Regions from separate parts of the Homo sapiens genome. Here all the other regions are linked to region 1. Evidence: promoter capture Hi-C in 16 types of primary human blood cells and fetal thymus (Javierre and others, 2016). All regions are on one chromosome and are shown on one strand. The core of a region is centred on a gene start or on the middle of the fragment in contact, and the rest is flanking DNA. Distances in the headings are between cores, read along the strand shown. Region 1 holds the start of NCOA2 (nuclear receptor coactivator 2). Region 2 holds the start of UBE2W (ubiquitin conjugating enzyme E2 W). Region 3 holds the start of COPS5 (COP9 signalosome subunit 5). Region 4 holds the start of VCPIP1 (valosin containing protein interacting protein 1).

The links. The method cuts DNA at HindIII sites, captures the fragments that hold promoters and counts their contacts. A CHiCAGO score of 5 or more calls a contact.
Region 2: the fragment with the promoter of UBE2W here is called in contact with the fragment with the promoter of NCOA2 in region 1 in 6 of 17 cell types (non-activated CD4 T cells, naive CD8 T cells, naive CD4 T cells and 3 more); the score reaches 12.8 in non-activated CD4 T cells.
Region 3: the fragment with the promoter of COPS5 here is called in contact with the fragment with the promoter of NCOA2 in region 1 in 1 of 17 cell types (activated CD4 T cells); the score reaches 9.1 in activated CD4 T cells.
Region 4: a contact is called between the fragment with the promoter of VCPIP1 here and the fragment with the promoter of NCOA2 in region 1, in 5 of 17 cell types (non-activated CD4 T cells, M0 macrophages, fetal thymus and 2 more). The highest score is 8.8, in non-activated CD4 T cells.

What each region holds. Positions count from the first base shown.
Region 1 is chr8:70,398,462-70,405,598 of GRCh38, reverse strand. NCOA2 (nuclear receptor coactivator 2) reads left to right here and starts at 1,791. Exons shown (of 23, transcript NM_006540.4): 1 at 1,791-1,899. RefSeq lists silencers at 1,015-1,174, 1,865-2,174, 2,215-2,504, 2,535-3,194 and an enhancer at 1,275-1,394. The HindIII fragment of the contact is 4,231 bases long and covers 499-4,729 here.
Region 2 is chr8:73,875,465-73,881,853 of GRCh38, reverse strand. It overlaps UBE2W (ubiquitin conjugating enzyme E2 W), which reads left to right and starts at 2,992. Exons shown (of 6, transcript NM_018299.6): 1 at 2,992-3,046. The coding sequence starts at 3,032. LINC01617 (long intergenic non-protein coding RNA 1617) reads right to left here and starts at 2,872. Exons shown (of 3, transcript NR_147034.1): 1 at 1,157-2,872. RefSeq lists silencers at 2,760-3,049, 3,190-3,239, 3,260-3,519 and enhancers at 2,906-3,783, 4,260-4,309. The HindIII fragment of the contact is 3,471 bases long and covers 1,993-5,463 here.
Region 3 is chr8:67,057,032-67,063,638 of GRCh38, reverse strand. It overlaps COPS5 (COP9 signalosome subunit 5), which reads left to right and starts at 1,506. Exons shown (of 8, transcript NM_006837.3): 1 at 1,506-1,785; 2 at 4,194-4,428; 3 at 5,428-5,556; 4 at 6,194-6,259. The coding sequence starts at 1,643. RefSeq lists enhancers at 1,300-1,569, 1,750-1,839. The HindIII fragment of the contact is 5,475 bases long and covers 1-3,184 here.
Region 4 is chr8:66,661,754-66,668,707 of GRCh38, reverse strand. VCPIP1 (valosin containing protein interacting protein 1) reads left to right here and starts at 1,477. Exons shown (of 3, transcript NM_025054.5): 1 at 1,477-4,459. The coding sequence starts at 1,750. C8orf44-SGK3 (C8orf44-SGK3 readthrough) reads right to left here and starts at 1,112. Exons shown (of 19, transcript NM_001204173.2): 1 at 1,007-1,112. C8orf44 (chromosome 8 putative open reading frame 44) reads right to left here and starts at 1,112. Exons shown (of 2, transcript NR_161217.1): 1 at 1,007-1,112. RefSeq lists enhancers at 880-1,389, 1,760-2,279, 2,530-2,589. The HindIII fragment of the contact is 1,085 bases long and covers 1,108-2,192 here.

The DNA of each region.
Region 1 (7,137 bases), core at 542-3,041:
GACAAACCTCAGGTGACTACTACCCCATTGTAGACAAGCTACAGACTGGTATTAGCAGAAGATAGGCCATAAACAAACTCTCCATTTCCTCTCAACGCTTTGGGAACATAATTCTATTATTCCAGCTAGCTAAAAAAAAAAAAAAAAAAAAAAAAAAAAAACCTTTAAAAATATACATTAATACATAGTCAATGCAAACATTTCAAACATTAGATAGGTGTGCAAAATAAAAAGTGGAAGTGCCTCATCACCCACTTCTTACACTCCCCAGCGCTAACATTTGTTGTTATAGGCTTCCAAGCATTTTCTATCCACAAACAAACACAGACACACACACCCCACACATTTTTTTTATTCTTTTCCCAAATAAAATTGGCGGTACACCCACAAATTTTAGGATGAAGACATGTTTAAAAGCATGGGCTTTGGAGCTCACCAGAACTGGGCTCACATCCTCTCCAACTACTGGCTGTGACCCTGGGCAAATTACTTTAAGCTTCAATTTTTTGTGTGAAGTGAAAAGCGGCAATGACTTCGGAAGGTTTGAGGATTAAGGCCTATAGCATATATACATCACCTAGCACAGTCAGATTCACAGTAAGTGTTCAATAAACACTCTTATTGTCTACCGCAAGTGACCTTTCTCATTATAAGATTAAAATCAGGGAATATGTTCCTCTCATAGTTTGATAACTGCCATTAAACAAAAGTTTTTTTTTTCAACTAATTACCGTATAAGTTGGAAAAAAAACTTGCTTTTCCAAAGCGTAAAACAGATTGGTCTAAGTAACACTTAAATGGGGGTTCTCGCATTTTCAGTGCCAATCTCCTACGTCCCCTCAGTACTTTGTTCACGGATGTCTAGAGAATGGACTTTCCAATACAAACTTATGATTTCATGATGTGCCGAAAATTCTCAACCAGGTTAAGTTTCACACTCTGTGTGCAGCATTTGCTTTATCCCGCAATTGCCGGGTGGTGCCCCTTCCAGCTCCCACAGTCGCGCCTCTCCATCCCCTCTGGAGCTAGGACTGCAATGGGAGAAGCCTCTCCCTGTTGGAGCCGTAGGGGACTTGACGGATGCGGGGCGCCTCCGGGGAGCAGCGGCAGGACCGGGAGTTGGGTAGGGTGAGGTGCGCCCGAGGGGGTGCAGGGTGCTGGCCGAAGGGTCCGGCCGGACGGGCGCGAGGGTCCTCTGCTGGCGACCCTGGAACTCGGCTCTCCCCGATCTTCGTCCTGGGGCACCGTCCCTGCCGTCTGCAGCCCCCAGGCCCCACTGCCTCTAACTCAGCGGCCCAGGCCCGTCCCAGTCGCTAGTTTTCTTTTTGGCATTGCCCTTTGCCCTCCCATGCAGTCCTCTGTTGACTCTCTCTTCAGTTCCAGTCACCTCTAGGTCACCCTCCCTCTACCACAGTCACCCATTTTGTCCCCTGTCCCCTTACTCTTCTTCACCTCTCCCCGGGCCGCCTTCTCAGAGGACTCTGCCGACGGAGATGCTGCGGACCCCGCGGCCAGGGGCTGCTCCCCGGACAACCCTGCGTCCACCTTTGCCCCTTCCTCGGGGGCGCGAGAGGCAAGTTTCCGCCCCGTCCTTTTCCCGGTGACAGGACTTGGCGGCGGCCACTGCCGGGGAGGCAGAGGGAGGGACGGCCTGGCTCCCGAGCCCCCTCCCCTGCTCGCGAGCTCGCGCTGTCTGTCTCTCCGCAAGTGCGGAGACGCGGAGGAGGAGGAGGAGGAGGAGGAGGAGGAGGGAGTTGGGGGAGGATCTCCATTGAAATAAACAACCAGGCAGCAGTTATTAACACGGGAACATGGCGGCCGCAGCCTCGGCTACAGCTTCGGCGGCGAAGGTCAGCGCCGACGGCAGCCGGCACCTGACGGCGTGACCGACCCGAGCCGGTAACCGCGCCTTCCCCCGGGGCCGCGAGGGCGGGCGGGGGGCGGGCGGCAGGCGGGGGGCGCCGCGTCCCCACCCCCGGCCGCGACTGCCCTTCCTGCGCCGAGCTCCGACAGAGCCGTGCGCCTCCGAGAGGCTGTTTTTGTGTGCGGGGACCGCCGCCGGAGTGCGCGGAAAACGGGAGTTGCATCCCGGAGGCGCAGCGACGCTGGGGAGTTGGGGCTTGGGGGTGGGGAGGGCGGGAAGCGACGGGGAGACGCGGAGTCCCCGGGAGAGAAAGGAGGCGCTCCAGCGCCTTGCGAGAGCTCAGGAGACGAGTCCCGGAGCGCGAGGCGGGCGGAGGCTGCAGCCCGCGGCGCGGGCGAGAGGTGAGCGCCGAGGCGCGGCCGGGGGTGCGGGCGCGGCCCCCGCCCCGAGGAGCGAGTGCCCATTGCCCAGCCCGGTGCGGGGTCGGCGGAGACCGAGGCTCTAACCCCTCGGGGGCAGCGCGGCAGAGCCGAGAAGGTGAATCCTGGGAAGGTGCATTCTTTAATGGAAGCGCGGAGCGGCTGCAGCGGAGAGTGGGAGCCGGGCGAGGGGAGGCAGGACTCGGGAAGTGCTGGGGGTGTGTGAAGGTGAAGCGGGGTGTCGGGGCGGCCGGCGAGCTGCAGCGCGGGGCGGGGAAGGGGAGCCGCGGCCCGGCGGGTGGCCCGGGCCCGTGTCAGCCCCGGGGGTGGGGGGCGAGGGGCGCCGAGCACCGCGGGCGGACGGGAAGGAGCTGCGGCGGGCGGGGCGGGCGGCGCGCTGGGGCCGAGCAGGCCGGGCCGTGGTGGGGGCGGGGAGCCGGGGGCCGGGCCCCGGCGGCGCCGAGCCGGGCTCGCCCCTGACTGAACTTTCTGGGTGCGGGCGTGTATGCAGGAGGCGCGCTGGGGCCGGGGCCGGGGGCGGGAGGCGGACCGGGAGGTTCCGGGTTGGCTCGCCAGCGCCCCCTTTTCTCGCCCCCTTCTCTCCGCCCCTGAAGGGACAGGCCCTCGGGGCCCCAGGCGGGAAGCGGGAGGGGCCCTGTGGCCGCCTCGCGACGGTCACGCCCCGGGCACGGGGACCCGGCCCTCTCGGGCCCCTGGGGGGTGCTGGGGGAGGGGGCCGGGGTCGTCGCTGCCGGCTGCGCTCCCCGCCTCCTCCCCTCGGGGGAGTCCCAGAGGCGCCTCTTCCGAGACCGGGGGTGGGTCGGTCCCTGGTTAGATGGCCCCTCCCTCTTCCCCTCCCTCTAGTGGTTTCCGGGGCCTGCGGGACCGAGGGGCGGGAATCGGGGACTGGAGCCCCCTTCCGCTGGCCCGGAGCTGGACTGGGCCTCCCGCGTTCTGGGTCCGTCACTGGTAGGGGAAACTTTCCCAAACCAGAGACCGAGCCTGAACACCTTCCTCCGCCACCTCGTCCTCTAATCCCACTCCCTCTCCACCTCCTCCGACGCCTTCCCCTCCCACCGACCCGAATCTCGGTGCGTCTGACTGATGGGGCAGTGAGCCAATCGAAGGCAGGGAGCTGACCTGCCGGGTGTCGGTGAGCCAATCGTGCGGACCGGAGGAAGGAAGGGGGCGGGGTTTCTCCTGACCAGTTAGAGCAGAGTTGCATGCGGGGCGGGGGAGTCATGGAGACGCTGAGAGCCAGCTACTCTTGTCCATCCCCGAGTCACCCGCTCCTTGATTTCTGGGGTTGTGTCACTTATAGGGGCTCCGACCCGCAGAGGCTGCCGAGGCACTCGAGGTCCTGTATGTCTTTCGTACCGAAATAGACGTTGTCTTAGACACGACGAAGTCTAAAGCCACTTTAGGATGTGGCAGTAACTCACCGAGGCCGGTTTCTAAAATGGCATATGCTGTAGTGATCATGTCCTGGACCTCAGCGTCCGGTTTACATGCTAAGGGTCACAGAAGACAGAAGTTACCCGTTTACCTCTTATCTCGGTTTCACTCAGCTATGCCAGAATGGGGACAATGAAATTTGAAAGGGAACCCTGAGAATGAAGGCATGGGAGCAGTATCACGTCAACTGATTATTGGTAGTAGAAAGCATCATTGTTCATAATGGCTTCACTGGTTTCTTGTTTAATTAGAGCTCCAGTTCCCAAAGTGTACTTGAAACTTCGGCATTGGGGATGTCATTAAAAAAAAAAGTTGTGGTTTATGGTATGCATTTTTTTTTCTTTTTGCAAACAAAATGAAGTTGGGAACTAAAGCATCACTGATTGAAACATTAAGTGTGGGTATTTAAGGAGCAAAGCTAATCAAAGAATATTTGTCTACAGGAAAAAGTCTGAGTAAAATGTAGTTTGCCAGATTACTCCCACACAAAAGATTCTTAAAAATAATTTTAATTTTCTTAAACACTGCTGAATTGTACAGTGTGTGGGTACTTTTCTGGTTTATACAAGGTTTGGAGACATCTTTGGTTTTAACTGTTTATTGCGCGTTCAGTCAAGTGACTTTCTCAACTCTTGACTTTTAGGAACAGAGGTCTTTGATTCTCTGTAAAGATCACAGGTTGCTCTGCAGGAATAGCAGTCTTTTAAAAAGAAAGCAGCTGCTACAAAGCATGTGTGTGTGCGCGTGTGTGTGTGTGTATGTGTGTGTGTGTTCCTGTTCTTTGTTGGTGAGGTTAGGCACACTGACAGAAGTAATGCTCCCTTTCTCACCTGGAATTTGTAGAATCTTTGGGAGCTCAAAGAATGAAAAGTGTTAGATTAAGAATGAATTCATTGATTTTTGTCATAAGTATCCCATGAATTTAATTTTGGGAGTGTTTTCTTTTAGGTATCTTATGTGGAAAATGTGTATCTTTTCTATAAGTCAAGCTTTTATTAATCTTGGGTTGCTAAGAAAGAATCGAAGGGGACTGCAGTTCTAGGGAACAGTATTTGCCAAATCTTACAAATGTGTTCTGTTGTAATATAGTGTTTTCAAATTTACCATGAGAATTCCCAATTCAGGATCATTTTGGGTGCATGTAGACAAGAATTAATTGCATTTTGCTGTGGCTCTTGAGATGTTTTTTGTAATAAAATAGTAAAAACAGAGAAGGTAAACCAAACACTTAGACTGACAGAGAGGTAAGGAGTATTAAAAACAACATTCAAAATTTGACAACATTCAAAACCCCCCACCATTTGTTAATTTAGTTACTTATGGGCACTCTGACATATGCCCTTCTCTCTTTTGTATGCTGAAGAGCAACACATTATTTTACTTAATTCTTTGCAACAATCCTTGAAAATGTGGTAAGATTCTTGGTGGCAGAGAGAACCAAGTCTCCTAATGGCTGGCTTGGGGGGAAAAAAACCTCTCAAGCATATGGAGACATCTAGAAAAAGATGTGCATCGTCAGCTGTGATTCCATTGTGTGCTCTCAGACTGGATCTGAGCTTCCTTCCTCCTGGGAATTTCAGTCTTAAACAGAGGAGTTCTTTGACTTTTAGATGTCAGTATACTGAAGCAGGAGGGTAGAAAAGGAGCTCACCAATTACGGATTTATTATGTTTTGAGTAGTTAATATGTTTTGGATTTTAACCCTTCATTGGTTAAATATAATTTAGATGAGTGGCTTAGTGTTAGAAGAGCATTTTATTGGAAATATAAAATGTAAGGCTTGGAGGGGGATTTGGGCTGTGGATAAAGGGGTAATGCTCCTTAGTTGTCTTTATTTATAGTTGTATCTTATTAAAGCTTTCCAAGCTTCAGTAACATCAAGGATCTGTGAGCAGTCCTTCCATTATATGCCCTGTATTTAAGGATTCAGTACCGTAGCTGTTTCAAATTACATAAGGTTGAAATGTGACCCATAAGTTGACAGCTTGGATTTCTTAGGAAAAATTGTTTGTGTTGTATTGAGTTGAAAAGCAATTCTTTAAGCACTCTTTAGGATATTGGATAGTAAAGGAAAATACAAAAGGGGATGGTCTCTTTAAACAATTTTTCTGAAATGCACAGCATGTGCCCTCATTTGATATTTTGGCCATTATTGTGTCATGATCGAAGTTATATTTAAAAGCCAAGTTAATGCTTATTTATTGTTATGAAAAAACTGCTATTTAAGAAATTACTAACTTTAGTATTTTGCGTATGTAGTTTTGTTTAGTAATGTATGTTATTACATGCTTTATTGATTTTAGATTAAGAGAATAGGAGGGAGAAAATAAGTCACTGCTTTAAGGTATTGGTCTTTTATTGCAGCAAATCATAAAATCAGCAACAAATCAGGATCTTTTTCCATAGTATAAGAATAAGACTATAGTTCATACCAAAAATGAAAGCCATTTAAGGGAAAATGGAACAAAACCTTCAGTTTTTTTGTACCCTTTCATATTTAAGGCTAATTTTACCTCTCTATGCCTTACTTTTCTAAACAAACAAAAAAGGTTCTAAGTGTTTGTGTTCTAGGTGTTTGTGTTTTTCCTTTTTTGTTTTTAAAGGCTTCTAGTAGGGCTTTATGAATTGCAAGCTGTAAAAAGAATATGTCATATTACTCTCTAAAGTCTATTACAAGTAATGGCTGGAAAAGCTATGAAATACAATTTTAATGTTGCAGACCTTCAATTCAGACATCATAAAGAAAACACATCTTTATGGATTCTAGATGCTAATTTCTAGATAGAGGTGATCACGAATGTGACTTTTGTGGGTATTTTAGAAGCTGGTGTAGTTCTCTTAGCTGTGGTAAAACATTATGAAAAGGAGTGGAAATCTTAAGGATAAACTATGAAGGCAACTGAAATTAAAAGACTAGGTGGTCTGTAGGTAGATCCTAATACTGTTAGCTTTTAGGGCAAAGATTTTATGTGTTTACTCTATGAAATGTTGATCAATGACCACATTTCTGGGTCCCCATGGCTGTGATGACATAATGCAATTGTGGAAATGTTGATTCCAGGATAATTTTCAGTTGGTTCTCTGGTTGGAAATTTCTAGAGAAGAATTAAATGACAAGGGAACCTATGGTGGTGTTTTACATAGCTGTTTTTGAGGCTTTGGACACAGAATCATATAGGTAGAAGTTACTCGCAACTGGTTAAATGTTCTAAAGGAAAAAGAAAACATCTTTACTTTGACTAGGCGTCAGCTGACAGATAACGTGGAGAATTGAAATTAGCCTGTTAATTCTGGCAGAATTTATGCTTTGTAGGCAGCCAGTTCCGAATTGTTTGAGTTCCCCTGGCCAACTTAAATCTTACTTTGGTCTTGCTGTTGTTGTTATTATTATTATTATTT
Region 2 (6,389 bases), core at 1,743-4,242, 3.5 Mb before region 1:
TACTCTTACGTGGCCAAGCATGGCCTGTAATCCCTGTAATGCCAGCACTTTGGAAGGCCAAGGCAGGTGGATCACTTGAGGCCAGGAGTTCGAGACCAGCCTGGGCAACATGATGAAACCCCGTCTCTACTAAAAATACAAAAAATTAGCCAGGTGTGGTGGCACATGCCTGTAGTCCCAGCTACTAGGGAGGCTGAGGCAGGAGAATCACCTGAGCCCGGCAGGCTGCAGTTGCAGTGGGCCAAGATCGCGCCACCGCACTCTAGCCTGGGTGACAGACTGAGACTCCGTCTCAAAAAAAATATATATATATATATAAATATATATATAAATATATAATATATATATTTTATATTATATATAAATATATATATTTATAATATATATATAAATATATATAAAACTCATATGATGCTATTAAGAAGATCCAGTAAGGATATGGGAAACTTTAACTTCATTATTGCCGAACTATTTTCCAAAGTGATTGCACTAGTGTCACTCCTATAGAGTTTATGAGAGCTCCACTTCCTCTCTCACTTTTGGTATTGTCAGATATTTTTTTTGAGACAACAGGGTCTTGCTCTGTCACCTAGACTGGAGTGCACTGGCATTATCCTGTCAGACATTTTAACTTTTGCCTATCTGATAGTAATGATAGTAAGCCTCGCTCTGTAGAAATATGAGCCTAGTCTTCAAACATGGCATAATAGTGTTTTAGATATTAACATTACATGCTCACTGGAGATAATTATATACCCCCCATACCATCTGTAAGTCACTGTTTTGGCTCCTATGTCAGGATCTTTTTATTAAATATTAACAAAAGAATGGCCGGGCGCAGTGGCTCACACCTGTAATCCCAGCACTTTGGGAGGCTGAGGCGGGTGGATCACGAGGTCAGGACTTCGAGACCAGCCTGGCCAACATGGTGAAACCCCCATCTCTACAAAATATACAAAAAAATTACAAAAAATTAGCAGAGCGTGGCGGTGTGCGCCTGTAATCCCACCTACTCGAATCACTTGAACCTGGGAGGCAGAAGTTGCAGTGAGCCAAGATCGCGCCATTGCACTCCAGCCTGGGTGAGACTGAGACTCCGTCTCAAAGAAAAAGAAAAAAAAAAGAAGACAGGTTATTATGTGCTATTTAGTATTACCTAGAAAGGATATGACTGGCATTGACTTTTCCCTCCTGAGAAGATACTTCTAACATATATGAAACCCAAGGGACCAGATATTGGATCCACTGTGATGAGTGTCAGAATTCTTGTAACCTCTTTTTTCCTTATTAGTATCTGTCATGCCAGGTTGTTGGCTCTGATGATGTCATAATGCTTTGTTTGTAGGGTCATCCGATGCTACTGTTTCCACAGGAACAATCAGCTTTTAGGCAAAGTGAACCTTGGACGGTAAAAGCTGATCTTCTGAGGTCATAGGAATAAATATATCTCAAAGAAAATACACTGGAAACTTCTTCTTTAAGTTTTCCTCTTTCATTGGAATATGTGGGTTTCCTCACTGTTGTAATGTTGATGACACAACAAGGCTAACACCGGATATGCTTCTGGCTGATTCCGGTTTACCAAGAGCATCCAAACATCCCTCAAGGACACAGTCATTTTGCACAACAAAGGGAAACTCCGCTCATTTCTGGCATTAAGGTGGACATCTGAGAAAGGGGAGGGTATACCACCATAACTTCTCTAGTGATGAATAGTGTTTAATATTATACCATAGACTAACTGGCGTATTTTAAAGATCTTTTTCCTTTTTGAACACATTTCAGATTAGAGAAGTTCCAGAGAACGTAATCTATTTTAAGAGTGTGAAAGAGTGATATTCCACATTGCTTTTATATCTTAAAGAAATTTCTAAAAAGAAAGCCGAGTCAATAAAATGACAGATTTTAAGCCTTCATTCTGGTAACATAAAAGCCTTCTACTCATTGTGTCTGCCACCTTAATTTTTAAAGATAGAGCATGAGGTGTAAGCTTTTGGCTTCCATTTTCCTCTTATAAACCAATGACATCTTCAGTTCCAGAATAGCTTTTTAAAAACGTGACTTCTGATAAATGTTGGCAGAACTGGTGCATTCCTAAAATAAATTATGTATGCTCAGCTTTCCCTACCCAAGTTCATCCCTAAATGACCACAAAACTGCCCACCACGAACTATGCTTAAGAGAAGTCTGGACATAATGGTATAAGTGTATATAACACGACATTGGTATATTTAAAAAAAAATTCATGCCTAGGGTCAATTCTGATAATCAAATTTAGACTGCTGCAACAACCGTAACTATTGTTGATATATGCGCAGTTTAAAAGTGAAGGGCGGGGGTAAGGGGCAGAAACTGCACACAACAAACTTCCAAATTTTGTCTCCCTTTTCAGGCAAGTTTCAGCTCCACAAATCTAAATACCCTCGCCTTTAAAATATCAGTGTCGTTCTGCTCTTAAATCCTCATCCCGTTGTACAAGGAAACCTATGTCTCTCTTCCCCAAATTAAGAATACGAGAAGCCTTCCAGGTCTGCAAATACCAGAAAGCAGCTGCGCATGAAGTTTTATGGGGCCCCAAGGCTCTGAGAGTGGGCTTGGAGGTATGGAAAACACATCCCAAGGGAAAAATCTGTGAACCGCACAACTGTGGTTGGAAACGAAATAGGAAAAAAACTGCGCGGAACCGGACGTCATCAGCATTTCGCGGTACACACGAAGAAAACAACCGTAGTCGGGTCAAAACTGGAGCCGTGTCTCCTCAGTAACGAGAGTAAATGGGGGCCCGACGCGTGAGCGGCCAGCCGGACTGAGACAGAAAGTACTCAGAGCGCCATTTACCGCGCCCTCGCCCCGCCCCGTAGCCCCTCCTCCCGTCCGCCCTGCGCGCCAGCCAATCCCCTCGCTCCATCCCCTTCCCATCGCAGACCCCGCCCCCGCGCCCGGGATGTTGAGCCCCCGCGGCGTGACGCGAGCACGGCAGCTCCTCCCCCTGCGTCTCTGGCCTCGCCGGTCTTGGGGGGATGGTTCCATCATGGCGTCAATGCAGGTGAGAGGAGTTTGCTGCATCTGGGCGGGCCAGGGAGCCGCCGAGAGAGTGCCAGCGTTCGGGCGGGGGTGGCGTCCGCGATTCGGGGACACCCGGGCGGGTTCGGGATCGGTCCGGGTGGCCTGTTTTCCCTCAGCTCAGGGCGTCGGGGGAGGGGTAAGAGGCGGCGAGAGGCGTTGTGGGGGGTGCGGTATCCGTCGGTCGAAGCGGACACCAGCCGGCCGGGAAGTTGGGTGATAAAGGAGGGTTGGGGAAGAAAGGGCAAAGTCTGGCGTTGGCGGTCTCAGAATCGGCTCCCCGCACACACACACGGGCGCTGCCAGTCTGCTGCCCGCCAGCCCCAGGGTTGCCTTTACCCCCGCTGTCCCTGGCCCGACGGAAACAGCTGCGCCCGCGGTTGTTGCCGGGGCAGGGGCGGCGGGGGGCTGAGTGTGCGGGAGCCGAGAATGCGTCTCCGGAGAAGGCGGCTGGCTGCGGACGGCGCTTAGCGGCCTCTGCTCCGGCCTCCCACGCCGGGCCCCCCAGACTGCTCGGCCCCGTCCCTCTCTTCTTCCCTTTGACTCTTAATCCTGTGCCCGTGGGTATCTTCTATTTCCATCAGCCTCGGTATTCTCGCGGACATTCCTCCAGCAGTCCACTGTCTCCTTCCTCTCGAAGCTGCCCCGTGTCCACCGCCTGATGGGCGATCTCCCGAGAGCCGAGTCCTCAGCCCCCTTAAACCTCTCGGGATAGCTTGCCTTCTATTTTGTTTCCCACTGCAAGGCCCCACCCTTGCGGTCGCGATAAGGCTATACATCTCTTTGCCCTTATTCCCAGACCTTTAGTGGAACCTTAGTTTGGTAGGAGGCGTTTGTTAACCTGTGCCATATCCCCCCGACTTAGCAAGGCGTGGTTTTCTGGCTTTCCAACTTAATTTACTCCTTTTTCCCGAATCTAGGGAGTTGTGGGTTTTTTTGTTTTTTGTTTCCAGGCAAAGATGGCAACCACAATTGTAGTTGTGCAGGGATTGAGTGCGTTATCTGTAGCCTGCATTTAATTCACAGGTGAAGACTAGCGGTATCAAAGGCATTGGAAGAGAAAGTAGAACGCTCAATAGGAGTGTCAGCTGAGTACCCTTTAGCGTTTTCATAATATCCCCTTGGGTAAAGAGACCACATTTTCTTAGAAGTGTTTTTTGCTTTTGTTTCTGGAAGAAGCAAGTCTCTGTTCCTCCTCCATTTTTTTTTCTTTACTCTGCTAAAAGTGTTTTTCTTCCCTTTTCTGCATCTTCTTCCTCTTTTGTACAAATATAGCTTTGCTTCACATTTACTCCTGTGCTTTTATGTTATTCCCCTTTCAACCTGTTTTCCTTACAATATTCTCTTTACCTTGCTTCTCCCTCTGGACTTGCCTGCAGAACAGAAAAGTTTTATGTAACATTTCTAGTTGAAGAGATATCACGAATGGTGCAGGGAAAAAACAGGAACAATTTCAGGAAACATTATACTTTACACTAGTCTCCCCAGAGACGTTGGAGAAGTTTCGTCATTTGAGGCCAAAAAAGGAACAGTGGAATGCTAGTTGAACAGTAGATGCAATAGGCTACATTACCACTTAAAGATTTTTATCTGTGTTAAGATTAAAACATTTTTTATGACAAGTTTAAGATTATTATCTGTATTAAGATTAAAACATTATTTGAGGCTAAACATTAAGATTAAAATCCACAACACTTGTATTTGACAAGAGAACGTAGTGTGTCATCTCGTTAGATTTAGTATCTGGAAAAGGCAGATTTGTTTGTAAGAGAGAGGTTGGTAATCTTGAACTTGAACTTTACATGGTGTCTTTTTTCTTTTTTGAGATGGAGTTTCGCTCTTGTTGCCCAGGCTGGAGTGCAATGGGGCGATCTTGGCTCACCGCAGCCTCCACCTCCCGAGTTCAAGCGATTCTCCCACCTCAGCCTCCTGAGTAGCTGGGATTACAGGCATGAACCACCACGCCCAGCTAATTTTGTATTTCAGTAGAGACGGGGTTTCTTCATGTTGGTCAGGCTGGTCTTGAACTCCCGAACTCAGGTGATCCGCCTGCCTTGGCCTCCCAAAGTGCTGGGATTACAGGTGTGAGCCACCGTGCCTGGCCTACATGATGTCTTAAGAATTGGAAACAAATACTTGATTGACAGTGCAATAGTGCATTTTTCTGTGCCCTAAGTATTACTATCTCAGACTCTTACCACCCTTTTAAGTTTTTCCTTCACCTTGTTCCATCGAAATCTTATCACTCTCTATTCTTCTGTGTTTTCTGGTTAGAGGAATGGAAAACGGATGCTTCCTATATTTATTGAAAAGTCTTTCCCTTTTTATTTGTATTTTAAAATATCTAGTGCAGATTTGCTGGTAGTATCTTTAAGAATATTTTAATATATATGTCAAGCTTTTTGAAAGACAACCCTACTTTCTGTGTGGTTATTCTGTATCTTTGTTATACAGAATTTATATCCTGACTATCTTAATGGCAACATTTGGCTCTTTTAAGACAACTAGATTATACATAAATCTTCAATAAAATTATCAACTTTGTTTATTCACTGAGCCAGTTATCTTTTGGGGGACCTCTATGTGTCAGACACTTATCTAGTTGCTGTGGTTATAGCAATGAACAAAAGCAGACAAGATTTCTGCCCTCATGGATTTAATAATAAATAGTCTCATAAGAAGAGACAGATAAGAACAGCATATTTAAGTTAATTGTGTTTTGTTCTTGTTTTTTGTGTTGAGATGGAGTCTCGCTGTGTTGCTCAGGCTGGAGTGCAGTGATGCCATCTTGGCTCACTGCAACCTCCGCTCCCAGGGTTCTAGCAATTCTCCTACTCAGTCTCCTGAGTAGCTGGGATTACAGGCGCTGGCCACCACGCCCAGGTAATTTTTTTTGTGTTTTTAGTGGAGACTGGGTTTTGCCATGTTGGCCAGGCTGGTCTTGAACTCCTGACCTCAGGCGATCCACTCGCCTCGGCCTCCCAAAGTACTAGGATTACAGGTGTGAGCCACTGCACGCGGCCAAGTGTGTTATTATATTAGAAGGTGATAGTGCAGTGGAGAAAAAGCATGGAAGAAGACTAGGAAATTGATCATTTGGGGATTTCGATTAGGAAAAAATAAGCTGTAACATGGAATGACCATGTCCTTAACCCAAAAAGCTTTTAGTAGATTTATCTAACCCACACCAGGATGTTGCTGCTGCTGCTGAAGTTACTTAAGCTCTAAGAGGAACTGTATTTTTTTTAAAATGCCATATTATACAAATGTAACATGGGATTTCATTACTTGGTAATGAGTAAAACAAGTAAGGGTAGACTTTGAAT
Region 3 (6,607 bases), core at 257-2,756, 3.3 Mb after region 1:
ATCTCACTGGACTGCATTTTTAAAGATTAATAGGAGTTCCCAGGCAGAAAATTTACGAAAGAGCGTTTCAAGCAATGCTGACCACATATGCAAAGCCAAAGTAAAGATATCTGCATTGCTAGAATGAAAAGTTTCAAGGGGGGACTAAAAAGAGATGAAGCTGGAAGAGGTGCATAGGGGCCAGGTTGTTAACAGCTGTGGTGCTATCTTTTCTTTTTTCTTCTTTTTTCTTTCTTTCTTTCTTTTTTTTTTTTTTTTTTTTTTTGAGACTGGCTCTGTCTAACAGGCTGGAGTGGCGCAATCTCGGATCACTGCAACTTCCGCCTCCTGGGTTCAAACGATTCTCCTGCCTCAGCCTCATGAGTAGCCGGGACTACAGGCGCACATCATCACGCCCGGCTAATTTTTTTTTGTATTTTTTTAGTAGAGACGGGGTTTCACCATGTTGGCCAGGCTGGTCTTGAACTCCCGACCTCAAGTGATCAGCCCGCCTCGGCTGCCCAAAGTGCTGGGATTACAGGCGTGAGCCACCGCGCCTGGCCTGTCATGCTATCTTTTCAGGAAATAAAAGAAAAAAAAATCTTGAACACCTATGCTAGGTGCTAGGAGATAAAACAAGGAACGCAGACCTGCTCCCTGTGTCTTGAAACTTAAAATCTTGCACGGATGGAAGAATGAGATGGAGAAAAAAGAAAACCTAAAACACGTGAACTAATAAAAAAATTAAACATTGTATTAACTGTAGGAAGAAAACAAACCAGTTACCCAGATTAATTACGCTTTGGGAACAAATGCGGTTCACAGGAGTGCCAAAGATTTAACTGTAACCTGTTACGAGAACTGAGTACTGGACATTTTCAGATCAGTAATGGCACATTATATATACGTAGATGTTAACTTTTACCAAAGCGCAAAAAAGCAATCAAGGAGTACCCACTGCCTCCTCGCATCGATAGAAAAAGCCCATCTGCAAGTGAAGTGCCAAGCCACCACGAGCCCGTTAGCTTTTACGCATGTACAGTGAGTCATCTTGAAGTAAACGGGAATGCCATGTTTATCTTCCTCTCAACCAGCTTCCAGAACGACTTTTAGCTCAGTTGTACAACAGACAGCCTTACCTTTTAGTCTTTCAACAAACTTATCTCATTTAAGGTACCTATACCCACACAAAAACACTTTCCGCCCTCCACATCCCGCTCTTAAGGCTCCAGCTACCTTTAATATGGCGGAGGCCGAGCCTGCGCATTAGAAGCAGAGAAGGCAAATACCAGTTTCTGGAATAACGTTACATGCCCTTCTTCCGGTGCGGAAGACTATACCACTCCCATACCCTATAACTTTGTTTGTTCTATTTCACACATATAATTTTCCGAGACAAGATGTTCTCATTTAAGCAACAAGAAGATTCGTCTCTCGCTATTACTGTAACTGCTGTTTATATCGTCATGTCCCGGAAAGGTCCCTGTCTTCCCTGAATGGTCTCTACCAACTTCACCTCCGGTTCTAGGTGTCATGGCTGCCCCAAGAGTCTAGGTAAGAGTTTGTTCCCGTGGTGCGGAGGGTCAAGGCCCACACCCGGAAACCTAGCGAGGTAAAGTTGCGTCTTGGTTGTAGAGACGACAACTTCTCCGCTTCCTCGGCGATGGCGGCGTCCGGGAGCGGTATGGCCCAGAAAACCTGGGAACTGGCCAACAACATGCAGGAAGCTCAGAGTATCGATGAAATCTACAAATACGACAAGAAACAGCAGCAAGAAATCCTGGCGGCGAAGCCCTGGACTAAGGAGTGAGGAGGTCCCTGGCGAGACGCAGGGGAGGGAAAGGGTGGCGGAGTTTAAGAGACCCAGAGGGAGAGGGAGGTGAAAGGGGTGAAGAGCTTTCACCGACTGGGAGGGGGACAGAATATGCGTCTTGGATCTGCAAGTAGAGCCTAAGCCCTCCGCTGGGGCTTTCACTCCCCTTTCTGTCGCTTTAATCCATTTGCCCCCGGGTGATGTAAGGGGAGAACAACAAGCGGTGATTTAAGTTGTCACTTCTGAACATCCGTATTGTCATATATGCCACACACCCTACCTTGAGCCCAGTGTCGACATGCACCTTGTTTGGGTCTTCAACTAATCCCAAACTGGGGATTGCAGCTGTTTTCAGAAATCGAGTCAGCAGCCCAAGGTCTCAAAAATAGCTATGAGCTATTTTCTTTTCTTTTTTTTTTAATAGAAATGGGTCCTCGCTGTGTTGCTCAGGCTGATCTCGAGCTTCTGCCTTCAAGCGATCCTCCCGCCTTCGCCTTCCAAAGTGCTGGGATTACAGGCGTGAGGCCTGGGCCTATAATAGTTTTTTGATTGCTGGTAATTATTTCGGAGGCACACGGAGGCTCTACTACCTGGTCTCTAAAATGTTACTCCACCAGTTCCCATAAGCCAGAAATTATAAAAATAGAGCTTAAGACCTTTTGCCCTTCAACAATATCCATTTTTCCCTGGGAGTGGTGACAAGTCGAGGGATCTTTACCCATAATATTTATCTTTTCCTGAGAGCATCTCCTGAGAGATTTCCTGCTATCAGGAAAAGATAATTATTACGGGTTATGTTTGAGAGTAAAAAGAGCACGAAAGCTAATGGTTAGATAGAAAGGAAAGCTGTGGTCAACAAGAGGACATACTTCTACTGCCTCACAGTTTTTTTTACAAGGCTAGCCTTGTCTCTCAGTATTCAGATTCCACAATGGTGAACTGCGGAAGCACCTAGCTAGAGATTTCCACGTCATTTAATTTTCATGACAACCCAGTACAGTATATCCATCCTTTTGTTACAAATTAAAAAACAAGCAAATACGTTATGTAATTTATGATCATACTGACATAAGTGAACTCTCAACTGAGCAATAGTCAGACCTAAGATCAAATCTCACAGCTGTCACTAACTAGTTGATTGACCTTAGGAAATTTACTTATCCATCTTCATTTGTCATAATATGGAAATAAGACCTACTTATTGGTATTGTCATAGAGATTAGGTGAGATAATGTATAAAAAGAGTCGTCTAGAATGTATGTAATAGGAGCACAGTAACTTGTCTTTCTTCTTTTCTCCAGTAAAGGGAGAAGCCAAGATTTCGATTCATGTCTTGACTTCCAACATGAGGTCTACACATTTTTCAGCTTTTGGTTGAAATCTGGCAAAGCTTAGGAATTAAATTTGGATTCTTTCTGTGGGCAGACATCTAAAAAGGCTTTGTAGAGACGTTGACTGACTGCTCTGTAAGGCTGCTTAAGTTGCTTGGTTATCTGCTTGCTTCTGTAACAGGCTGTGCATTTTAGGTTCGTGTACTCTTAAATATTTGGAAACTGTTGGCCTGCCTCACTGTCTAATTGTGGCTCTAATTATATTCATCCTAGCTGTCTTGGGCTGCATTAATGAGACCAAAATGTAATTTTATTCAAGAGTTTAATTCACTGATGACCAACTCTGAAATAGTGATCATAGGAGACTAGGATATTAGGGCTACTTTTTAATTTAAGGCTGATATAACAGGGAAGCCCACCCTTCAACACTCTGTTCTTTGAGAGTAGGGTTAAGAGACAGGTTAATAATGCTGATAACAGCTAGCACTTATTAGGGTTCTAGTATGTGTAAGGCACTAAGCACTTTATATACATTATTTCATTTATTTCATCCTAACAACAATTATGAATATCCCTATTTACAGAAAAGGAAACCTAGGCACAGATATTACAGGGTTGTCCCAATACCACAGCTAGGGAATGGCAATGTCAAGATTCAGACCTTAGCAGATGAATGTCAGAACCCACATTCTTAACCATTAGGCCAGAAGGTTAGGCCTCAGAACAGTTAGGCACAACCATCCAAGCAGTCAGAATCCAAGATTGGGTGATTCCAAATTAATGGAGAAAAAGTCTGTTGAACTGGTCATGTTACTCCCTTATTTGAATAGCATATTAAAAAAGTATTTCAGACTTTTCCCCTCCCCTAAGGGGGATACGTTGCTGCACTATGACATACTTATTGTTTCCAGCCTGCAAAAACTGTCCTTTTTTACTTTTTCTCCCCGTAGTCTACACTCCCTTTCCATCGCTCTAAATTCCTTCAATACTTACTCTTTATCTTCATAAAAACTTTTCTGAAATTTTACTTTATATAAGGAATTTAATTACATTGTGATTTTGTTTTGCAGTCACCATTACTTTAAGTACTGCAAAATCTCAGCATTGGCTCTGCTGAAGATGGTGATGCATGCCAGATCGGGAGGCAACTTGGAAGTGATGGGTCTGATGCTAGGAAAGGTGGATGGTGAAACCATGATCATTATGGACAGTTTTGCTTTGCCTGTGGAGGGCACTGAAACCCGAGTAAATGCTCAGGCTGCTGCATATGAATACATGGCTGCATACATAGAAAATGCAAAACAGGTAAAAATGTTGTTTCTTATAGTTTAGTAATTGCAAGTTAGAGTCTCAAGGTGACTTTTGAGTTTCTAAACTTAAAATTATCCCCTTTACATGAAATTTTATATTTAAATTTTAATGATTTATATGTAAAATGTACGAGATTAAAAGCCTGATAAGACTTATAGCATGGTTTTTTTTGTTTTTTGTTGTTGTTGTTTTTTTTTTTTCGAGACAGGGACTCACTCTGTTGCCCAGGCTGGAGTGCAGTGGCGTGATCTCAGCTCACTGCAACCTCCATCTCCTGGGCTGAAGCAATTCTCCCTCCTCAGCCTCCTGAGTAGCTGGGACTACAGGCGTGCACCAGTAGGCCTGGATAATTTTTCTATTTTTAGTAGAGACGGGTTTTCTCTGTGTTGGCCTGGCTGGTCCCAAACTCCTGTCCTCAGGTGATCCACCACCTCAGCCTCCCAAAGTGCTGGGATTACAGGCATGAGCCACTGCACCCGGTCTATGGCATGGATTTTATTTTTTTTTTAAATAAACTCTCACACTTATTATCAGATACGTGTTTAAAATAAAAAATTTGGAAACAACCTAACTCAGTTCCTGAGTATAAAACTGGCTAAATAAATTATGGTATATCCATCAGTGGACTGCCAGGCAGCCTTTAAAAGAAAAAAAAATAAAAAGATAACCATCATATATATTGATGATTTATATGAAGCAAACTCCAAAGCAGTTTATTGAGTGAAAAAACAAAGTGTAAAACATTATTATGTTATGTGGTATGCTATTGTGTGTGTTTTTATCAATCTATGTATGTGCAAAGAATATGTATTCTGTATACAAAGAATATCTCTGTAAGGGTAAGCAATTGCCCATAGATTTCGCATCTGGGCTGAGAAAAGTGGGTAATTGAGGAGAAGGAGATGGGAAGGAGACTGGTTACCCTTATTGTACTGGTACCTTGTAAATTAATTAAAGAGTAATCTTAAACTTTTTTGCCCCTTCATTTGTTAGGTTGGCCGCCTTGAAAATGCAATCGGGTGGTATCATAGCCACCCTGGCTATGGCTGCTGGCTTTCTGGGATTGATGTTAGTACTCAGATGCTCAATCAGCAGTTCCAGGAACCATTTGTAGCAGTGGTGGTAAGAATTTTAAAACCAGTTTAATTAAGTTCTTTATGAAGATTTGCTGAAGCAAGTATACTGAGAAATAAGAATAGTGTAGTAAAGAGAAATTGCTCTGGTATCAGTCTGCCTAGGTTTCAATGTGAATTCCATCTCTTAGAAGCTGGGACTTTGAGCAAATTATTTAACCACTGTGTATCTTGCTTCTCCCCTCTGTAAATTGTGGGTAGTCATAGCATCTATGTCTCAGTGCCAGCTCATCATAGGCATTCAATCAGTGTTGACTGAACTGAGTTAAGCAGGAATTGCTAGAGCAGCTCTTATTATGTTCAGGGTGTTTTAAGTGCAATCCAGGTTTTATGAGGAAGGTAGGAGTTATTCACCTCTTAAAAGGACAAAAGAAAACTTTTTAAAAATAGATGAGCAAACCTTCAAATAATATTCTTAAATGTTATAATAATTTGAATCTCTAAGTTAGCTGTGAGACACTTATATTACCCTCTTACTGAACTTTTATGGTTTTTTGGTTTATTCTTATTTGGTTATTATGTATGTATATAGTGTTATATGTATGTATACATTTCTAGGTTTATAATGTTTAAATAAAAGGCATACAGTTTTATATCAGCAGATATTAAATATATCTTTCTTATAGATTGATCCAACAAGAACAATATCCGCAGGGAAAGTGAATCTTGGCGCCTTTAGGACATACCCAAAGGTAACTTTTTTTTTTTTTAAGAGTTAGAGTCTCACTGTGTTACCTAGGCTGGAGTACAGTGGCTATTCACAGGCATGATCATAGTGTACTACAGCCTTCATCGCCTAGGCTCAAGCCAACTCAGCCTCCCAAGTAGCTGGGACGGTAGGAATGCTTAGTAATTTTTAAAATTATAAGTCCTTACATTTTTTAAATTCCAAATATTTGACTTATTATTAAAGACATTAGCAATATCTCTTGTTATTAAAACAATTCAATAATATTTACAAAATAGTAAACTACCACAAGCTGTCCCTAGCAAAGGGTAATACATTTATGTTATATATTGTTAATTTTACTGGAAAAGCA
Region 4 (6,954 bases), core at 228-2,727, 3.7 Mb after region 1:
ATCTCGGCTCACTGCAAGCTCCGCCTCCCGGGTTCACGCCATTCTCCTGCCTCGGCCTCCCAAGTAGCTGGGACTACAGGCGCCCGCCACTACGCCCGGCTAATTTTTTTGTATTTTTAGTAGAGACGGGGTTTCACCATGTTAGCCAGGATGGTCTCGATCTCCTGACTTCGTGATGCATCCGCCTCAGCGTCCCAAAGTGCTGGGACTACAGGCGTGAGCCACCGCGCCCGGCCGGGATTTTTTGGTAAGCAGCAGCGTAAAAATCACTCTCAAGGTTTGAGATTGGGATCCAGCATAACTGGTGACTTGACCTTGGGCAAGTCACTTAATTCCTTTTAGTCTCAGTTTCCCTGATTGTAAATGAAGTCAACACCACCTGGTAAAGGTATTACAGGACTGGTGTGAGGATGAGATGATACATGTGAACATATTATTAAATATGTAAACTATAAGGCAATAGTAAGCAAATGCTAGTTACTATTCTATGTAATACAGGCCTAACCTTTCCTGCCTATGTCCTGATCTGTAAAAAGAAGACAGGTTGAGATCTGAATGTCTATCCACTCACTTATCAGCTGCGTGAACTTTAGCAAGTCATTTCCTTTCTGGGCCTGTTTCCTAAGAAGGTTATTTTTTAAGATCAAATGATATCGTGTTATGCAAATGCTGTCCAGACACATATTAAGAACTTAACACATGATGGCTCTTATTATTCTCTGGGGAGTAGGGTGGTAAAGAGCAAATGAAATTAAACCTAGTTAAGAGAATTTGTATATGCACACAAAACTCTACAGACATCCAAGGTACCGTTATTTGCACTGTAAACTGCCAAAACATGCAGGAAACGAGAAATCAAATGGCGCCTCAGTGATTCGCACTAGAGAGGGGGAGAAGGCAGAGCTTCCGAGAATCAACTGTTTTCCCCCTTATGGCCTCCAGCCTAGATTAGACCATTTATTCAACTTCCCAGCCCCCAATATCCCTGGACATTTATTTACTGTACCTTTTTCACTGAGAGCCTTTCCACTCCCCTCCCCTTCTAGTAGTCGTGAACTTCAGACCCTCGCTTCGACTCCCACTGCCATAACTGTTTTTAACCAAGCTTCCCTGAATCCTCCCCTCCGCCTAAGGAGGAAGTGCAGCTAGACGCACCGCACGGCATCCTAGGAAATGTGGTCTCTCAGACTCTTTGCCTTGGGCTGCAGAGTGGGGAAGACGACGAAGGAGAGCCCAGTAAAACTACAACTACCGGCAGGCAACGCGAGTCACCATCTTTCTTTCGCCCCTTTTCCTGTTGCCGTCCTCTTCCTCCTCTCCTCTAGCGCTGAACCGCTTGGCCTCACGGTACTTGTAGTTCCTTCTGGACTCAAGATCCTAGGGCTTGATGGCCAGCACAGAGGCTGGAAGACTCTAATTCCCAGAGGGCAGAGCGGAAGCTGCGCCTGCGCACACTCAATGAGGGCGTGTATGTCTGTGTCTGAGGGAGAGAGAGCGAGAGTGAGTGAGTGTGAGTGCGGGGTGGGGTGGTGGCCGTTACGTTCGGGGCAACGGCTACGGCAGTGGAGAAGTAAGAAGAGAAACAACGTCCGGCGCTTCCGCCTTCGCTTAGGAGGAGGAAGAGCTGGTAGGGAAAGGAAAGTGCTTCGCCCTGGGCCTGGACTGGACCGAGTCGGGTTGGTGGGGGTCTGGGCTATGAGCTTTTGAGGGTCGCCTGGGACGCGGAGCGAGACACGAGAGCCAGGAGCTATGTCTCAGCCGCCGCCGCCGCCGCCTCCGTTGCCGCCGCCACCTCCTCCCCCTGAGGCTCCACAGACTCCGTCGTCCTTGGCGTCGGCGGCTGCTTCGGGGGGGCTTTTGAAGCGGAGAGACCGGAGAATCCTTTCCGGGAGCTGCCCGGATCCGAAGTGTCAGGCGCGTCTATTTTTCCCGGCCTCCGGTTCTGTCAGCATCGAGTGTACCGAGTGCGGCCAGCGGCACGAGCAGCAACAGCTGCTGGGGGTTGAGGAGGTGACCGACCCGGACGTAGTGCTACACAACCTGCTGCGGAACGCGCTGCTCGGGGTTACGGGGGCACCCAAGAAGAACACGGAACTGGTAAAGGTGATGGGCCTTTCCAACTATCACTGCAAATTGTTGTCGCCCATATTAGCTCGCTATGGAATGGACAAACAGACAGGCCGGGCCAAGCTTCTCCGGGACATGAACCAGGGCGAACTGTTCGATTGCGCCTTACTGGGTGACCGCGCCTTCCTCATAGAACCAGAGCATGTTAACACTGTGGGCTATGGCAAGGACCGCTCCGGAAGCCTCCTGTATTTGCATGACACTCTGGAGGACATTAAGCGGGCCAATAAAAGCCAGGAATGTCTCATTCCAGTGCATGTGGACGGGGATGGACACTGCTTGGTGCATGCTGTGTCTCGGGCTCTAGTAGGCCGAGAGCTCTTCTGGCATGCCTTAAGAGAGAATCTTAAACAGCACTTTCAGCAGCACCTGGCCCGATATCAAGCTCTGTTCCATGACTTCATTGATGCTGCTGAGTGGGAGGACATTATCAATGAGTGTGACCCTCTGTTTGTACCACCTGAGGGTGTTCCCTTGGGCCTGAGGAATATCCACATATTTGGTCTTGCCAATGTGCTACATCGTCCTATTATTCTGTTAGATTCCCTCAGTGGCATGAGAAGCTCTGGTGATTATTCAGCCACCTTTCTACCTGGGCTCATCCCTGCAGAGAAGTGCACTGGGAAAGATGGTCATTTGAACAAACCAATCTGTATTGCATGGAGCAGCTCCGGTAGAAACCATTATATCCCCTTGGTAGGCATAAAAGGGGCTGCTTTGCCCAAACTGCCTATGAATTTGCTTCCTAAAGCATGGGGTGTGCCTCAGGACCTTATTAAAAAGTACATAAAACTTGAAGAGGATGGTGGTTGTGTTATTGGAGGTGACAGAAGTTTGCAAGATAAATACTTACTTAGGCTTGTTGCTGCTATGGAAGAAGTCTTTATGGACAAACATGGTATCCATCCTAGTTTGGTTGCTGATGTCCATCAGTATTTCTACAGAAGGACTGGAGTGATAGGAGTTCAGCCTGAGGAAGTCACAGCAGCTGCTAAAAAAGCAGTAATGGATAATCGCCTTCACAAATGTTTGCTCTGTGGTGCCCTTTCTGAACTTCATGTTCCTCCAGAGTGGTTGGCTCCTGGAGGGAAATTGTATAACCTGGCAAAAAGTACTCATGGACAGCTGAGGACTGACAAAAATTACAGCTTTCCCTTGAACAATTTGGTTTGCTCATATGATTCAGTGAAAGATGTTCTGGTACCAGACTATGGAATGAGTAACCTAACAGCTTGTAATTGGTGCCATGGCACATCTGTGCGAAAGGTCAGAGGAGATGGGTCTATTGTGTATTTGGATGGAGACAGAACTAATTCTAGGTCCACTGGTGGCAAATGTGGTTGTGGATTCAAACACTTTTGGGATGGTAAGGAGTATGACAATCTACCAGAAGCTTTCCCTATTACTTTAGAATGGGGTGGAAGAGTGGTCAGAGAAACAGTATATTGGTTCCAGTATGAAAGTGATTCATCTTTGAATAGTAATGTTTACGATGTTGCAATGAAACTTGTTACCAAGCACTTTCCAGGTGAATTTGGGAGTGAAATCCTAGTTCAGAAAGTTGTCCACACTATATTGCATCAGACTGCCAAAAAGAATCCCGATGATTATACTCCTGTAAATATAGATGGTGCTCACGCCCAAAGAGTTGGAGATGTTCAAGGACAAGAATCAGAGTCTCAGCTCCCAACTAAAATTATTCTTACTGGACAGAAAACAAAAACTTTGCACAAGGAGGAGTTAAACATGAGTAAAACTGAAAGAACTATTCAACAGAATATTACGGAACAGGCTTCTGTAATGCAGAAACGGAAAACAGAGAAGTTAAAACAAGAACAAAAAGGGCAACCCAGGACTGTTTCTCCCAGTACCATTCGTGATGGTCCATCCTCTGCACCTGCTACACCTACCAAGGCTCCCTATTCACCGACAACTTCTAAGGAGAAGAAGATCCGAATCACAACTAATGATGGACGACAGTCCATGGTTACCCTTAAGTCTTCAACAACCTTTTTTGAACTTCAGGAAAGTATAGCCAGAGAATTCAACATTCCTCCATATTTACAGTGTATTCGATACGGGTTTCCTCCTAAAGAGTTAATGCCACCACAGGCAGGAATGGAAAAGGAACCAGTTCCTTTACAGCATGGCGACAGAATTACAATAGAAATTCTAAAAAGTAAAGCTGAAGGTGGTCAGTCTGCTGCAGCACACTCAGCCCACACTGTGAAACAAGAAGATATTGCTGTTACTGGTAAACTGTCATCTAAGGAACTTCAGGAGCAAGCTGAAAAAGAAATGTACTCCTTGTGTCTTTTAGCAACATTAATGGGTAAGATGAATTTAATTCTGATGGTATATCTTAATTGTAAATATAATACACTGAGTTTTCCTGTTATCTTTGGGGGAAAAGAAATCTGTAGCCATTGTAAGTTTTTAATTATATATTTCAGGAGAGAATTATTTTTAGTATTTTGAACAGTTGATAGATGTTAATAGGATTATTGAGTAACTATTAGGAAAATAGAAAGTTAAGGTAGTCCCTCAATAATAGTCAACAGATTATTTAAATATATCTTATTCTTGCAATTGCTTTTTAAAAAACAGACTTGTATTTATTTAAAGCGTTTTAAATTTTTTGGTAGGCTCTATTGATCCTGCCTACCTTGCCCCTTTTTCATTTATTTTTAATTTTTATTTTCCTGTATGTCATGTGATTTCAGCACTTCCTGTTTGATGAATTGCAGTTTCTGGTGTTTATATTCTCACTGCACTCCCACCTAGTAGTCTCTTACATTTCATTTTCTTCCTTTCCCAGTTCATCACATTTTTCTTTCTCATACACTAGGATTTGTATGTAAGTACACTAGGATTTGTATTTAAGTAATTTCACTACTCAAGTCTTTGCCATCAATTATAATGAACTGTTATAAGTTGTAGTTCATGAGAAACATAAACAGAGATGGATGGTAATGGTGTAAAGAAGTATTTGTTTTTAATCAGCATAAATTAAAGAAAAATATATTAACCAAATGTGTAATTTAAAGCTTTAGATGATTTGGGATACTGTTCAATGGTGTACTTTTTACAGTGTCTATATTTGCTTAGTCTTTGTTTTGAAATAACTTAGTATGCTTTACTAAGTCTTAAAGTATGAAGTAAAATTTAAATGTGTTAGTTACTGGAAGGGTTTTATTTTTGCTGAGATTAAAGCTTTCAACGAGAAAAGTCATCTGGGTTTTGATTCTGTTTTCTGATAGTACTATATGGCAGTGATTTGGGCCTTAATCTATCAAAATGAATACTACTCCTGGCTTATCTGGGGGAGTAGTAAATAGGGGATCTAAAAACCCTGCACAAATTTAGAACCCGGAATTGTTGATTTTAGTTTGCCAGACATAGTAATTGAATTGGGGAGTATGTCAGGAACTGTCCTACGCACTTTATATATTTCTTTTTTTTTTTTCTTTTTTTTTTGAGATGGAGTCTTGCTCTGTCTCCAGGCTGGAGTGCAGTGGCGCCATCTCGGCTCACTGCAAACTCCACCTCCCGGGTTCAAGCAATTCTCCTGCCTCAGCCTCCCAAGTAGCTGGGACTACAGGCCCACGCCTCCATGCCCAGCTAATTTTTGTATTTTTAGTAGAGACGGGGTTTCAACTTGTTGACCAGGATGGTCCTGATCTCCTGACCTTGTGATCAAGGTCACTTAAATACGAATGCTAGTGTACTTAAATACAAATCCTAGGTGGCCTGTGACTGTAATCCCAGATACTCTGGAGGCTGAGGCAGGAGAATCGCTTCAACCCCGGAGTTGGAGGTTGCGGTGAGCCTAGATCGCGCCACGGCACTCCAGCCTGGCGACAGAGCGAGACTCTGTCTCAAAAAATAAATAAATAAATGAATAAGTAAATAAATAAAAGACCTTCAATCTCCCAGGTCAAAAACAGGAAAGAGAAGATCTTCCTCAATAGAAGATGGACTCTTGAGAATGTGGCTCTTACCTTTATCCTTGTATGCACAGAACCTGATAATAGTGCTCAGCAGGTAGTATGCACTCTGAAATGTTTTTTAATTGAATTAAATAGATGACATTAACACAGCTAAAGAAAGGCTGTATCTGCAGAAATGGAATGGATGGTCAGTCAGCACTGAACATTGAAAAAAGTGAAAAGCAGAATTCGGCAATGTTCATATACTGCTGTACAAAGGAAAAAGGTACATCATCTGGGGTTCATGAAAATTCTGGTAACTAGAAAGGTAATCTCTGTCGAGGGGTAGGAATATTTGAACAATCCTGACTGTGGCCTGGCTGAAACATCTCTATCCCTTTGCCTGATTTCCATGTTCATCAGGCATCTATTCGTAACACTTATTTAGCTTCCTGATAACAAGTTTTGATGTACAGGTGACAGTGCAGATAAGGACGTGTTCACTTTGAAAGCTGTATTCTCCATTGTAGACTAATAAACGGACATGGGCAGGATTATGATCAGTAGTCTTAAAAATATGATCAGAGCCAGTCACGGTGGCTCATGCCTGTAATCCCAGCACTTTGGGAGGCTGAGGCGGGCAGATCACGAGGTCAGGAGTTCGAGACCATCCTGGCTAAGATGGTGAAACCCTGTTTCTACTAAAAATACAAAAAAAAAATAAGCCGGGTGTGGTGGCAGGAGCCTGTAGTCCCAGCTTGTCAGGAGGCTGAGGCAGGAGAATCTTGTGAACCGGGGAGGCAGAGGTTGCAGTGAGCCGAGATCGTGCCACTGCACTCCATCCTGGGCGACAGAACAAGACTGTATCTCAAAAAAAAAAAAAAAATCTGATCGGTAT